5 separate regions of the Homo sapiens genome follow, and regions 2, 3, 4 and 5 are each linked to region 1. The links are contacts of gene promoters, found by promoter capture Hi-C in blood cells and fetal thymus (Javierre and others, 2016). All regions are on one chromosome and are shown on one strand. Each heading gives the region's core, a stretch centred on a gene start or on the middle of the fragment in contact. The rest is flanking DNA. Distances are from core to core; before and after follow the strand shown. Region 1 holds the start of WDR26 (WD repeat domain 26). Region 2 overlaps FBXO28 (F-box protein 28). Region 3 has its middle 37 kb from the start of FBXO28. Region 4 overlaps LOC105373109 (a long non-coding RNA gene). Region 5 has its middle 20 kb from the start of FBXO28.

What was found. Contacts are between HindIII fragments. The CHiCAGO score rates a contact against its expected background, and 5 or more counts as called.
Region 2: a fragment that was not itself captured here is called in contact with the fragment with the promoter of WDR26 in region 1 in 4 of 17 cell types (naive CD8 T cells, total CD8 T cells, total CD4 T cells and 1 more); the score reaches 6.3 in naive CD8 T cells.
Region 3: a fragment that was not itself captured here is called in contact with the fragment with the promoter of WDR26 in region 1 in 3 of 17 cell types (naive B cells, naive CD8 T cells and total B cells); the score reaches 8.3 in naive B cells.
Region 4: a fragment that was not itself captured here is called in contact with the fragment with the promoter of WDR26 in region 1 in 2 of 17 cell types (M2 macrophages and M1 macrophages); the score reaches 5.6 in M2 macrophages.
Region 5: a contact is called between a fragment that was not itself captured here and the fragment with the promoter of WDR26 in region 1, in 7 of 17 cell types (naive B cells, naive CD8 T cells, non-activated CD4 T cells and 4 more). The highest score is 7.2, in naive B cells.

The regions. Positions count from the first base shown.
Region 1 is chr1:224,433,393-224,436,092 of GRCh38, forward strand. WDR26 (WD repeat domain 26) reads right to left here and starts at 1,405. Exons shown (of 14, transcript NM_001379403.1): 1 at 292-1,405. The coding sequence starts at 1,013. It also overlaps a transcript of CNIH3 not described here. RefSeq lists a silencer at 1,384-1,783 and an enhancer at 2,124-2,313. The HindIII fragment of the contact is 13,558 bases long and covers 1-2,700 here.
Region 2 is chr1:224,160,596-224,163,381 of GRCh38, forward strand. It overlaps FBXO28 (F-box protein 28), which reads left to right. Exons shown (of 5, transcript NM_015176.4): 5 at 1-1,452. Among named protein-coding and RNA genes, the nearest start is that of DEGS1, 21 kb to the right of the region's middle. RefSeq lists enhancers at 1-46, 1,817-2,317 and a silencer at 1-46. The HindIII fragment of the contact is 5,297 bases long and covers 1-2,786 here.
Region 3 is chr1:224,076,254-224,078,953 of GRCh38, forward strand. No RefSeq gene overlaps it. Among named protein-coding and RNA genes, the nearest start is that of FBXO28, 37 kb to the right of the region's middle. The HindIII fragment of the contact is 155 bases long and covers 1,370-1,524 here.
Region 4 is chr1:224,913,885-224,916,584 of GRCh38, forward strand. The region is part of intron 1 of LOC105373109 (a long non-coding RNA gene); the gene reads right to left. Among named protein-coding and RNA genes, the nearest start is that of DNAH14, 14 kb to the right of the region's middle. The HindIII fragment of the contact is 2,211 bases long and covers 181-2,391 here.
Region 5 is chr1:224,092,751-224,095,450 of GRCh38, forward strand. No RefSeq gene overlaps it. Among named protein-coding and RNA genes, the nearest start is that of FBXO28, 20 kb to the right of the region's middle. The HindIII fragment of the contact is 2,375 bases long and covers 152-2,526 here.

The DNA.
Region 1 (2,700 bases), core at 155-2,654:
GGGAGAAGTCATTCTTTGGGTTTCTCCTAACCCTTCCTAACCCCTCAACGCCTGTCTCGTCTCACAATTTGTCAGACTGATTGATTTTCCCCTATTTCCTTTCAGGTCCGCTCCTCCTCCCCGGTCGCCCTGAGCCGCGTCCTCCTGTGTACTGGGTCCTGCGTGCCCAGCACTCATTCTCTTTGACCGAGCTCTTTCAAGCCCCCCTCCCCCCTCCGCCCCTTCCCCTACCCCCCTGGAGCCTCCGTCCCTCGGTCTGTCCATCACCAGCTGGCGGTAAGGGATACTTACTTGAGCCCTAAGCCATTCAAGTGCTGTCCTATTAGCCTAATGACATCCTCATCTGACTGGGAGAGCCGCTTCTTCTTCTTGAGGCTGCTGCCCAGTTCTGGGGTGGCCAAGGAAGAGGAGGCGGCGGTGGTGGCGGAGGCAGCTGCGACGGTGGCTGAGGATGCGGCGGCCGCCCCGCCGGGAACCCCGTTATTGACATTCAGGCTGTTGCTATTGTTGCTGGCGGCGGAGGGGGCGGAAGGCAGGAGCCCATTGGCGTGGGCCAGGTCCCCCGCGGACGACGACGACGAGGGGGACGACTCCCCGTTCTGGGCCGACAAGCAGGCGAGTTCCGGGGTCTGTCCCTGGCCCCCGCCGCCCCCTCCTCCTCCACCGCCGCCGCCGCCACCTCCTCCTCCTCCTCCTGCCCCATTGGCCTGCATGATGCTGCCGCTGACCAGGCTGTGGCCGCTACTTCGGTGGGGGACAGCAGCGGCGGCGGGAGGGGCAGCAGCCGGGGGAAGTCCCACCACTACCACCACGGAGGAGGAGGAGGAGGAGGAGGACGAGGACGACGAGGACGGAGGGGAGAGGCCTGCTCTGCCTGCCGAAGCCCCGGGCTCTCCTACTCCCTCCGCCGCCGAGGCTCGGGGTTTCTTCCGCGGGGGCGGGGAGGCTCCGCCGGTGTCCGAGTCGGAGGAGGAGGAAGCGGAGGCCAGAGTTTCCTCGCCGAGAGAGGCCGTGGTGGGAAGCCGGTGGGGCGAGGCGGGGGAGGGGAGGCGGGGGCCGGGGAGAGGGTCGGGGTGAGGGGGGCCGGGGAGGCGGGGAGGGGGTCAGGGTAGGAGGGTGAGGGTGAGGGTGAGAGGAGGGGGAGGAGGAGGAGGGGGAGAAGGAGGATCCGGGCCCTTTCCCCCCCCCCTCCCGGAGGCAGCTCGGGGTGCGCGGCCCGGGGGTCGCGCCGGGGGGCGCCGCGGGGCGGCTGCGGGGGCGCGGGGCCCGCCGCTGGGCTGAGCCCCGGCAGTGGCTGCGGCGGCGGCGGCGGCGGGCGGCAGCGGAGGCAGCTGCCGCCTCTGTCCTCGGATCCGCTCCGCTCTGCTCCCTGGTGTGTTGATTCTTCCCCCAGCTGCTGCCTAATGGAGTCCAGGCGCTCGCGTCACAGGAAATGCCTATACTGCCCTCCTCACTCACTTCCGGTGGCAGGTATGGAACCTATAGGGGGCCTGTCACCCAGCACGTGCATCGGGGGCTGTCCCGGGGGTCAGGGGAGGGAGGCCAGCGGGCCGGCGGGGTCCGCCCCGACCCCATCCACGACCCCGACTCCTATCCGATCCTATCCCCGGCCCCGCTCGGGCCTTTCCCCTTGCGCCCTGGCTCGGCTGGCTCGACGAGCAGTAAGTTCGTAGCCGCCCTCCGAAGCCGGGCGTGCATGGGATGGCAGAGTTGGCGTGCGTGCGTGAGTCCACCAGTGTGGCATGGGCATGTAAGGTGCGCGGAGGGACTGCACCTTCTCCATCAGGTGCAGAAGGTGAGGATGGGGCAGGGGGCTAGGAGCTTCGACAGGCAGGAACTTCCAGGCACAGGGCTGTGGTAGGCCCCTCTCAATGGTAACCAGGACCGAAATCGGGTTTCACAACCTACTTGTTTTAGGGTGGAAAAACTTGAATTTCCACAGCCAAGTGCCACACAGTTGCTGTACCCGGGGCCATCCCGGGAGCTGTGAGATAATGAGCCGGTGAGACTCTGCTCCACCCTGGGAAGGGGAGTTAGTCTAGAGGAGCATATCTTATGGGGACAAGAAGTCACAAAAAGGCTGTGTGGTGTGTAGAGAAGGGGAGGGACTCTGCTGTTGAGGCTTCACTCTTTTTTAGCACTTGCCCAGCACCTCCTTCTCTCTTCCAGCTGCCTCTTGAGTCACTGCCCAGTTTAGGGAGCAGTAACATAAACCAAACAGTTGCCTCCAAAATATGCATTCTGAGAAGGATTCAGGCACCCATTCAGATCCAGGCTTGAAATTTTTACGTGGCATGTGAGCCTTCTGTGTCATCATGACTTACCAATTTATGTGAATGTAGAAATGCAGCAACAAAGACTGGGCTGAATCTTAATCATTGGCAAATGGTGTGCATTATCCCCAAACAATTATTTTCATGTATGTGGTTGATAGCATCTATACTCAATATGTATAAAGATTTTCTCAGAAATTTAAAGTCTTTCTCTGAAGTAGTTTTCCTGTGGGGAGGGGAAAAAAAACACCTTAGTTTCTAATTAATACATCATACATCGCTGATATTTATTATAGTAATAACTGAAAGTAATTTTGAGGCCTTTGGAGACAGTTGTTTTTAAATTTGGAAATACAATAAAAAATGATGCTGATGAGAAATTAGTAAAGAATCCTGAGGTTTATGGATCCTCAGACAGGAAGAAGTA
Region 2 (2,786 bases), core at 159-2,658, 270 kb before region 1:
TTTCAAACTCCTGTACAGAGCCTGGAAATAATGGAGCAAACGCAAATGTATTGAGAGTCATTATACTTTAAAATAGTTTTAAAGACTATTGGGGTACCATCAGGTCAAAAGCCACTGATTTGGGAAGCAATTTTTTTGCAAAACACTTTTTTTGGAGTACTGAACTTTACAGGGGCTTGCCTTAATCTCTATTTAGTAGTTTCAAGATATATGCGCAATTATTCTACGTGTTAAAAATGTTAAAATATTCTATGTAGCCCCAAAGGTGGGTAAAACAGTATAAGTAATGCCTAAATTAATAAGCTAAAAGGTGTCACTACAGCTGGATTTTTGAGAGAAAATGGACATAAAACTAGGCTATGTGTAATAAAAATAATGGCACCTTAAGATTGCACTATTTTATGCATTATTTTATATGCCATTTCATAGCCTGCACTTTAATCTCCAAAGAAACGATGTATGATGTCCCACTTGTTCCTTATTCTTAATAAACTTTTTCCTGAGACAGGGCACTTAATTCTATTTTACTATACTGAATTAGTTTCTTGGAGGTAGATTCATTTCTTGAGTTCTCTGTTTCCTTAGCCATAATATTTTCTAGGATCCGGGAACTCCCTATATTGTCTATTTCCAACATTATATAATTTTAATTTAATGTAATGTAAATCTCATACTTGGTGATCAGCACATTCTTATATCCTGCTCTAGCAATGAGTACCCATTTGTTACACTTACCAAACTCTCTAAAAACATATACTGTGAGTAAGATTTGAAGCCAGGAATAAAAGGCAGTCTGAAAGAAAACGTCCTATACGATGCAGTTGTTTGGAAATGGCTGATTTCTGATATGAAACCCAACTTGATACACTGTTTGGTTCTTTGACTTGGGATCTATCTGAATTGCTTTCACTAGTACACAAAAGGTTAAGTTAAAACTACTTTAAACTTGTATAGCCTGCCATCTGAGGTGAATTATTTTCAAAAAATACTAAATCTATGAACTGAGACTAGCAATTAGTTGGCTGCTCCCTACCATGATTTTACTTTTAATAGCAATACAGTTATATTGGTGATAAATATGACAGGCTTAAGTACTGCTGTCCTTTTGCATCTTCCTAAGCATCTTGGTTAAATTTCTGAAGTTTAAAAATTAGATCCAGATTTCTTCTGTTGTGTCTGAAGAGAACCATGACATTTAGAAGTATATTGGTAATCTATTAGGTCCATTGGCAAAGTATATTGGTCCATATTCAAACCTATTCCAAAAGGTTAGAAGTGTTTAAGATTCCTTTATTGTGGTACCATGTCTGTTTACCTATGCTTATGAGCAACAATAAATTACTAGTTTACCTTCTGGAATTTTAATTGTTATAACCGAATCAATTATTGGAAAGTGAAAAACACCTCCCGGTCACACAACAGGGTACGTAAATAAATGTGTTGTTACCAGTGCTACTTGTTTTCTTTGTATTTCATGCACAAAAGAATATGGAGCTCTATTGCTAACATACCATATTGATAGCTACTGTCTTTTGGAGCACTGTACTATGTGTTTTACAGATGTTACAGTGGTCCTCACAGCTACCTTATAAAGTAGGTTTTACTCTACGTGGGGAAGTTGAACTCAGGCTAAGCAACATGTCCACAGTGTTATGCAAGTAAGTGGCGTAAGTGGGATTTGACCCATGAGCTCTGAAGTTTATAAACTTGCTACTACACTACACTGCATCCTAGAAACCTGAGAACAATGAGACTCTGAACTTAATATAAGCAAGACCATCCCACACATCCACTAGAAGCAGTCAATGCCCAAATCACTAATGCTAACAGTAGTATATAGAACTGAGATCAAGAAAAGGCTGGGCTAGGCCGGGCACGGTGGCTCACACCTGTAATCCTAGCACTTTGGGAGGCCGAGGCGGGGCAGATCACAAGGTCAGGAGTTCGAGACCAGCCTGACCAACATGGTGAAACCTCATCTCTACTAAAAATACAAAAATTCGCCGGGCGTGATGGCAGGTGCCTCTAATCCCAGCTACTCGGGAGGGTGAGGCAGGAGAATTGCTTGAACCTGGGAGGCAGAGGTTGCAGTGAGCCAAGATTGTGCCACTGCACTCTAGCCTGGGTGACAGAGTGAGACTCCGTCTCAAAAAAAAAAAAAAAAAAGCTGGGCTTGGAGGAGGCAACTTTTAAGGTTATTTGCACACAAGGGGTTCACCCTAGGTGTACAAGTAAAAGAGAATGTTTAAAAGGCTTCCAGAACCTGTAATCTTAAAATCAGAGAAGTCCTGGCAGTAGATGTGCGCTAAGGCTACTGACATGTCTAAAGTCACCTTCTGGCCGGGTGCGGTAGCTCACACCTGTTACTGCAGCATTTTGGGAGGCCAAGGCGGGTGGGTCATTTGAGGCCAGGAGTTTGAGACCAGCCTGGCCAATGTGGCAAAACCCCTCTCTATTAAAAATACAAAAATTAGCCAGGCATGGTGTCGCACACCTGTAGTCTCAGCTACTAGGGAGGCTGAGGCATGAGATTCGCTTGAGCTGGGGAAGTGGAGCTTACAGCGAGCCGAGGTCACGCCACTGCACTCCAGCCTGGGCAACAGAGAAAGACTGTTTCAAAAAAGTCACCTTCCTGTATAATATATGCTGCTGGTCAGTAGAAAAGTAGCAACTACCAATTCTTTCACCCTGCGAGGGTGGGGTACTAGTTCTCTTTTCAAGACTACGTCCAGTTCCAAAACTAAATGGTTAGAATTTCAACAAAATAAAATTATATAAATCAGTTT
Region 3 (2,700 bases), core at 197-2,696, 360 kb before region 1:
CAGGTACACTATTACATGTACTTGATAACTACAGGTACACTACCATGTGTGCCTGTAGTTTCTAGCATATCACCTTTTCTCCAAGAAGTTTAAGCCATACTCAAATGGCTAGTGATAAAATTTAGCACAGCATAACCTCAAGCTGGGACCAGGGACAGCCAAAACTCAACCTGAGAAACTCTAATTCCAAGAACATTTGGGGGAATTCCTGATCATGTTAAGGGAAAAAGAAATGGTTTCTGAAAAGAAAGAGAAAAATAAAAGCCCAAAATCAATAGTAAATGGAGAAACATAACTTCATAACTGCCTAAGCAATCTTTCATTGGCTTATAATACCGTAGCTCTAGGGTTACTCAGAAATAGAATGATGGCGTGTTTCTATGGGTTCCTTGAGGAGTTCATTCTTTCATGTAATTAGTTTGCTTACTTATTTGTTTGAGTGTGCATTTAGAACCTGTCTTAGTCTAAAAAAGATTTAAGGTAACATGCTACTATAATATCTTCGGAGAGAAATTGAACAATCTATGTGGTTTTCTTTGCCCTCATTAAAAGAGATTTCTACTGACTGGAGAAAAAGATTATCTAAGTAGGAAAGTAGTACAATACTCTGGTATGCCAAAATAACATTAAGAAATTCTCTGCATCGAAACAATGCCATTTGGCTGGGCGCAGTGGCTCATGCCTGTAATCCCAGCACTTTAAGAGGTCAAGGCAGGAGGATCACCTGAAGTCAGGAGTTCAAAACCAGCCTGGCCAACATGGTGAAACCCCATCTCTACTAAAAATACAAAAATTAGCTGGGCATGCTGGCACATGCCTATAATCCCAGCAACTTGGAAGGCTAAGGCAGGAGAATCTCTTGTACCTGGGAGGCAGAGGTTGCAGTGAGCTGAGATCGTAGCACTGCACTCTAGCCTGGGCAACAGAGCGAGACTCTGTTTCAAAAAAAAAGAGAAAAAATGACATGCAAAATATGCATTTTGAAGCCAATATTTTGCAGAGGAAAGAATATTATGCGCAATATACTTAGAGGAAGTCAGATTATTATTTTTATAAGCTACAGAGATGAAGGTGATACTGTCAAAGATGCCTTTTTGGTATAATGACATGTGAAGCTTTGTGATAGGAGCTGTTTACTGCAAGAGTTTAGAATGTGGCCATAAAATAACCCACTAATGGCAAACTATAGATATGTCAAGAAGACATTATTTTTCACTAGAAAAAAAAGGGTGAGCCCTTTCTAGCCTGTTAAGTGTATTGATGGCTTTTTGGCAGAGCTTTATTATTGTGAATCTCTCACTTGAAAAGCGTATTTCCGACATTTGTCACCTTGACTCCTTGGGGAGATTATTACACTGGTGGATTTTTAAGCTTGCTTTACAGGATATAAAAGTGTAGAGGATTAAACCATTTTTCCTTGGTCACTGCTAAGGGGACAGGCTAGGAACCATGAACTTAGATGGCGGCAGCCCTTTGCTGCCACCTCAAATTTCAAACTTCAATGACATTTCAGAAAGCCTAGGAAGCTTTTAAATGTAAATGGGAAGAGAAATCGATTTTGGCATTCCTAAGCCTATAGCAGGTCCTTCTAGATTCTAATAGAAATCTCAGTTTCAATTTTCAACATTTTGGTTTTGTTCAAAACTAATGCTGCACATATTTTCACTAACCATTAGTATAAGTAAGGTTTGGTGGAGAGTAAGCGGTCTCCACCAACTTGTACAGGTGGAAATGGACCTGAAGATCGTTCATCCAGTCCATGAATATTTACAGAGCAACAGTTGTGTAGTGCCCTCCTAAATTCCAGCATAACCAAGTGCCAGCTGTTAAGCAGCCTTCAGGCCAGAGGGGAAATAAGATAATCACATACAAAAAACGAAATAAGAACATAGGTCTGTGCATTCTTAAATGATCAATGAATGGGGCAGGCATTAAGTAGCCATCAACTGGTTCATTCTTTTCTTTTTCTTTCTTTTTTTTTTTTTTTTTTTTCTTTTTTTCTGAGATGGAGTCTGGCTCTTGTTGCCCAGGCTGGAGGGCAATGGCATGATCTTGGCTCACTGCAAACTCTGCCTCCTGAGTTCAAGCGATTCTCCTGCCTCAGCCTCCTGAGTAGTTGGAATTACAGGCACCCACCACCATGCCTGGCTAATTTTTGTATTTTTAGTAGAGACGGGGTTTCACCATGTTGGCTAGGCAGGTCTTGAACTCCTGACCTCAGGTGATCCACCCACCTCAGCCTCCCACTTTTCTTTTTTCTTTTTTCTTTTTTTTTGAGACAGGATCTCATTCTGACACCTAGGCTGAAATGCAGTGCCACTATCGTGGCTCACTGCAGCCTCAACCTCCCATGCTCAAGCAATACTTCTGCCTCAGCCTCCTGAGTAGCTGGGACTACAGGTGCACACCAACATGCTTGGCATTTTTTGTTTGTTTGTTTGTTTGTGTTTTTGTTTTGTAGAGAAGGGATCTCCCTATGTTGCCAAGGCTGAGCCACTAACTTTCTGAGAAGGGAGGTATCATTAGAGGATAGAGAGGCATCATTACTCAATGGAACCCGGCTTCCTGTATTCAAATCTTGGCTCAGCCATTTGCCAGCCCTATGACCTGAAGCAAGTTACTTTACCTACCTCTGCCTTGGTTTCTGATCTGTAAAGAGCCGAGGTAAGGGTGGGGATAATGTAGAAGCAAAAACTGACA
Region 4 (2,700 bases), core at 36-2,535, 480 kb after region 1:
GTCAACTGAATTCATTTCTTCTTAAACCTTTAATTATAGGCACTCCTTTGTTCTGCTTCTCTTTTGATGACATAATTTTTGCCAATGATAATGTAAAACTTCCTTGACCTTTTGGAAATCTTGAATTCTCCCTCTATGAAATGTAAATTTGCTATCCTATTTTCTCTAAAATTCAGTAAAAGCTTTGGACATAACTTGTTCCATTTACAGAGGTACAATTTAATCCAAGTGTTCTTTTAAATGAGTGAGTTTTACTTGTCTTATGGCAGAAATTATAAAATCTATACTATAAAATATTTATTTTGTATTTTTACTATACATATATGCATGTCTGTGTTTGTATATTGCCTACCTGGTACCAAATTGACTTGTAAATAAATGAGTACTCATAAATTAAGTAAATATGTGCAAAAACTTTTCAAGTTCACATGACTTTAGTAATCTTTGATAAATAAAGCTAGTTTTAAAATTGCTGATAAAATAAAACTTGAATGTCTTCAGAACAGTCAGTATTAAATACAATTCAGACATTTTGCCTGGGACTACTGGTCAGAAAGGTTTAGACTGTCTCTGATAGAAGTTTTCAGGTCATAAAACTGTTGTTTTCTGTGACATTTTTGATAGCTGTTTGGTTTATCTATGATCTTATGTGTTTAGTTTTGAGCCTTCAGATTGTAAGGTCTAGACAAGTGCCCATAGTGAGGTCTGGTGACTTAGGCCACCCCAGCTTTGGTACAGAGCCAAGCCCAGGATGTCCTCCCTGACTCGGCTGTGCCTTCTAGCCATGCTGGGAGGAATCAGATCCTCCAGGACTTGTCTTCACAGCCTTCTCTGTCCTGGGTTCTACACCTGGTACATAACAATTAAAATTGCTTACTTCCTAGGTTTTTCAGTAAGAATTAGGGTTACTAAGAGTTAACATTGTAATTAATATATGTGATTAAAACTACTAGATGTAAGAGAAACTATTCTGTATATAAAGTGTAAAAGAAAAATAGGATGTGTTTTGGTAAAGAAAGTTTTCTAAAAAGATGTTAAAATGTTTAACAGATAAGTAAGTTTGCCTGGCTTAAAGGTGATGTAAAAGTTATTTAAATTAAAAAAGATAAACTAAACATATATAAAAAACTGGGGAAAAAGAAAATGGGAAAAATTGTAATAGGTTATAAAAGGCTTATGAAAATCTTATGCTGTGTGATCAAAGCTGATCAAGATTCGATGGATCTGTATATAAGGTTTTATTAAAATTAGATTTAATAATAATACATTGATACAAGGGTTACATTTGTTTTTTTCTTCTGAACAATATTTTCATATAGTATTAATAAGATATAGTAAAATATTTTTGTTCACCTTTTCAGTAAATTGCAAAATTTTTAAAAGGAGAGGAGAATGGGAGAGATAATCTGATGCTGCCTTTATTAGGTCTTTTGATTGGAAAACTGAGTTGCTGCTCTATTGAGTAAAAGTTTTTGCTTTCTGAAATCTTTGAATTATCACTTTAGCTAAATAGATGACTATTATTTTAGAGTGACCTGTGATTTATTTTAATATCAAGTGTCTTCAACCTTTGATATTTGACATACCTCCCAAAAACAAAATTCAAATTCTAAAATTGAGTCTTTTTGACCTCAAAGTAACTCTTGGACATTCAAAAAAATGGAGGGCTCTTGAAAATCCAAGAGGGACATATTAGGCTTATTGGGATGTTAAAGGGATGTTAAAATCATATGGGAAGTATTATCCAATAAGAAATGGTGTTTGACTTTCTTTGAATTATCTTTGTGTGGATGTTATTAATGTATGCTCTCCAAAATTGTATGAGGTTTTATAAAAATCTGATATGTCTTGATATATGCAGTAAATCACTTTTTATCCTCAAACCTTTTTGCAAATGCTAAAGCATTGTGTCTTCAAGGAAATTAATGGAAAGGACTATGACAAGTACTCTTGAATACAGGTTTCTGATAACTTTGGAGATTATACCATTGGATGAGGTAAAAACATTCAGAACTCTAATAAAAAACTGATGGGTTTATAAACATTGCTAACCCAATTTCAAACACAGCAAAAGTTAATTACATAGGACTGAATGACAGAAGACTGAAATAATTTGTTATGACTTCATTTTGTTTGAAATACTGCTGATTGTTTTTATATTTTGCTTTCTAGAGTCAATACATTTTTTAAGCTATTTATAGTTTACAGCAATTGAGTAAAGTATACTTTTGTGAGAAAAATTGAAACATTTACCTTTCTCTCTACCTGATTTCTCTAGAATTTGAAAATTGTATTCTCATTTTATTGCAATGTGGCTATTTGTATAAGTTCAATAAGAATCTCTTTTCCTTTTGTAACAGGACACATTGGAAACACTGGTTATTTTACTAAAGCTTTGAATGGAATGTCATATTTTCAAGTTTGAGCAGACTGCTTTGAGGGATTAATGTTGACTTTATAAAACCAAGACTTGGAAAAAATGGCCTGGTACCTTGTCTATATTTTTCCTTTGCAGGATCCTGACCTTGGGGTAAGTAATGCCACTTTCTGATAGGCACAGAAACCTCAAGATATTTGGGGATCTTTGGAAGACAGGCTATTTTGGGACCTTTGGAAGATAGGAATTCAACTGATTTATGAGCTGTCCTCAACCTTGCCCCAAATAAACTCTCTGTATCAACATTGCCTCAGGTTTTTTCT
Region 5 (2,700 bases), core at 89-2,588, 340 kb before region 1:
ATGAATGTCTTGGTCCTGTCCTCGTGACAGTGAGTGAGTTCTCACAAGATCTGGCTGTTTAAAAGTATGTGACACATCCTGCCCCCCTTGCTGCCTCTCACTCTTGCCATGTGACGAGGCTGCTCCCACTTCACCTTCCACTGTGATTGTAAGCTTCCTAAGGCTTCACTAGAAACAGATGCTAGAGCCATGCTTGTACAGCCTGCAGAACTGTAAGCCAGTTAAATCTCTCCTCTTTTCTTTATAAATTACCCAACCTCAGTTGTTTCTTTATAGCAATGCAAGAACAGCCTAACACAATATCACTCCTGAGAAATTATTCTAAAATAGTTTTAATTTTTAATTTTAATCTGTAATGTAAGTAAAAAATTAGAAACAACCAAAGTGTCCAATATTTGGTAAATGGATGGGTTAACTGTAGACATTTTTTTTTTTTTTGAGATGGAGTCTCACTCTGTCACCCAAGCTGGAGTGCAGTGGTGCCATCTCGGCTCACTGCAACCTCTGCCTCCCAGGTTCAAGCAATTCTCCTCCCTCAGCCTCCCGAGTAGCTGGGATTACAGGCACATGCCACCACACCCAGCTAATTTTTGTATTTTTAGTAGAGACGGGGTTTCTCCATGTTGGCCAGGCTGGTCTCATACTCCTGACTTCAAATGATCTGCCTGCCTCGGCCTCCCAAAGTGCTGAGATTACAGACATGAGCCACCCTGCCCAGCCTAGACATTTAACATTATAATTACCAATTGCTGTGGTCTGAATGTCTATGCTCCCCCAAAATTCATATGTTGAAACCTATTCCCTAATGTGATAGTATTAAGAGGTGGGGGTTTGGGGAGGTGATTAGGTTATAAGGGTGGAGCCCTTAGGAATGAGATGAGTGCCCTTATAAAAGAGGTCCAAGGAAACTTATTCATCCTTCCCATCAGGTGAGGACACAGCAAGAAGGCATCATCTATGAAATAGAATGAGCCCTCACTAGACATGAAATCTGGTGGCACTTTGATCTTGGACTTTGCAGCCTCTAGAACTGTAAGAAAGAAATTTAAATTGTTTATAAGCCACCTAGTTCATGGTATTTTTATTACAGCAGTTTGAATGAACTAAGTCACCAACCTTATACAACATCAAGGAAAAAAATATTTCTAATATGTTATATATTTTTTAAAAACCCACCAAAATGTATTTGTTTACTTTTTTTTTTTTTTTTAGACAGGGTCTTGCTGCGTCACCCAGGCTGAAGTGCACAGGCACAATCATGGCTCACTGCAGCCTCAACCTCCTGGACTCAACTGATCCTCTTGCCTCAGCCTCCTAAATAACTGGGACCACAGGTGCTCGCCACAATGCCTAGTTATTTTTTTATTTTTTTTTTTAGTAGAGACAAGGTCTTGCTATGTTGCTCAGGCTGGTCTTGAACTCCTGGGCTCAAGCAATTCTCCCACCTCAGTCTCCCGAAGTGCAAAGTTTAAATTTATAGATTTTTGGCCGGGCCCAGGGGCTCAGGTCTGTATTCCCAGCATTTTGGGAGGCCGAGGCAGGTGGATCACTTGAGGTCTGGAGTTCATGACCAGCCTGGCCAACATGGTGAAACCCTGTCTCTACAAAAAATACAAAAATGGTACCATGCACCAGTATCCCCAACTACTCAGGAGATTAAGGCCGAGAATTGCTTGAACTCAGGAAGCAGAGGTAACAGTGAGCCGAGATTGTGCCACTGCACTCCAGCCTGGGTGACAGAGTGAGACTTTGTCTTAAAAAATAAATAAATAAATAAATTTGTAAATATTTATGTTAAAAATATGTAAAATGAGAGTATAGTATACAAGGAATTGCAGAGAAGTGAAACTACTGTATTAGAACAGCAAAAATAGAGGTAGTTTATGTTTTTTAATTTTTTCTTTAATGCTGGTTCAATAAATTTTTACAAGAAAAATTTTATACAAAACACAATGATGTTTACTCTCAGATCTTGTGGGTACTATTCAGCAATGTATGCCTGAAGACTGGGTTTTCGAAACCTGCTGAACCTAAGAACTTCCTGAAGTTCTTGTTAATATAGGTTCCCTGGATGCACCCCAGATGCATTGAATCCACGTCTCCAGAGAAGGTACCCAAGAATCTTTGTTTTTAATAAGCACTGATGATTTGGCAACCACTAATTTCGGGCAGCAAATGACATCATTGTGACTTGAAAGAGCCAGTGTCTACCAATTGACTTGCACCCATAAGTATATGTTTCTCATGCCTCCTTATTCCCTCTTATTAAAGAACCTCAACCTTGTTCTTTTATGAGCTCAAAGGATAGCAATGTTCTCAAGTAATACATGCTAACAGAAAAAAAAAATTAGAGCCTGCCTTGGGTTACTCAATGAATTACAGGTAGAGAGCAGACCAAGATATTGTTTATGCAATCTGCAGGCAGAAAAAAAGAAGCTATTTTTTTAGTGGCATTAAAATGATTGCAATGATAGATTGGGAAGAGGGTAATAACAGAAGAAGGAAGTAGATAGGAACACAAAATCAAGCTTCCTATAGTCAGAGGGAAAGATGCCCCTGTTCCTTCATTTTCCTTCCCACCCTCAGCCAAAGTTAAGGGTGAGTGGCTACACAGTCAGAGTCTGTCCAGGAACCCAGCTCAAGTTTTGTTAGGCTAAATGCTGTGAAGAAGTTCCCAGGGGGAAATGGTGGCCATATATT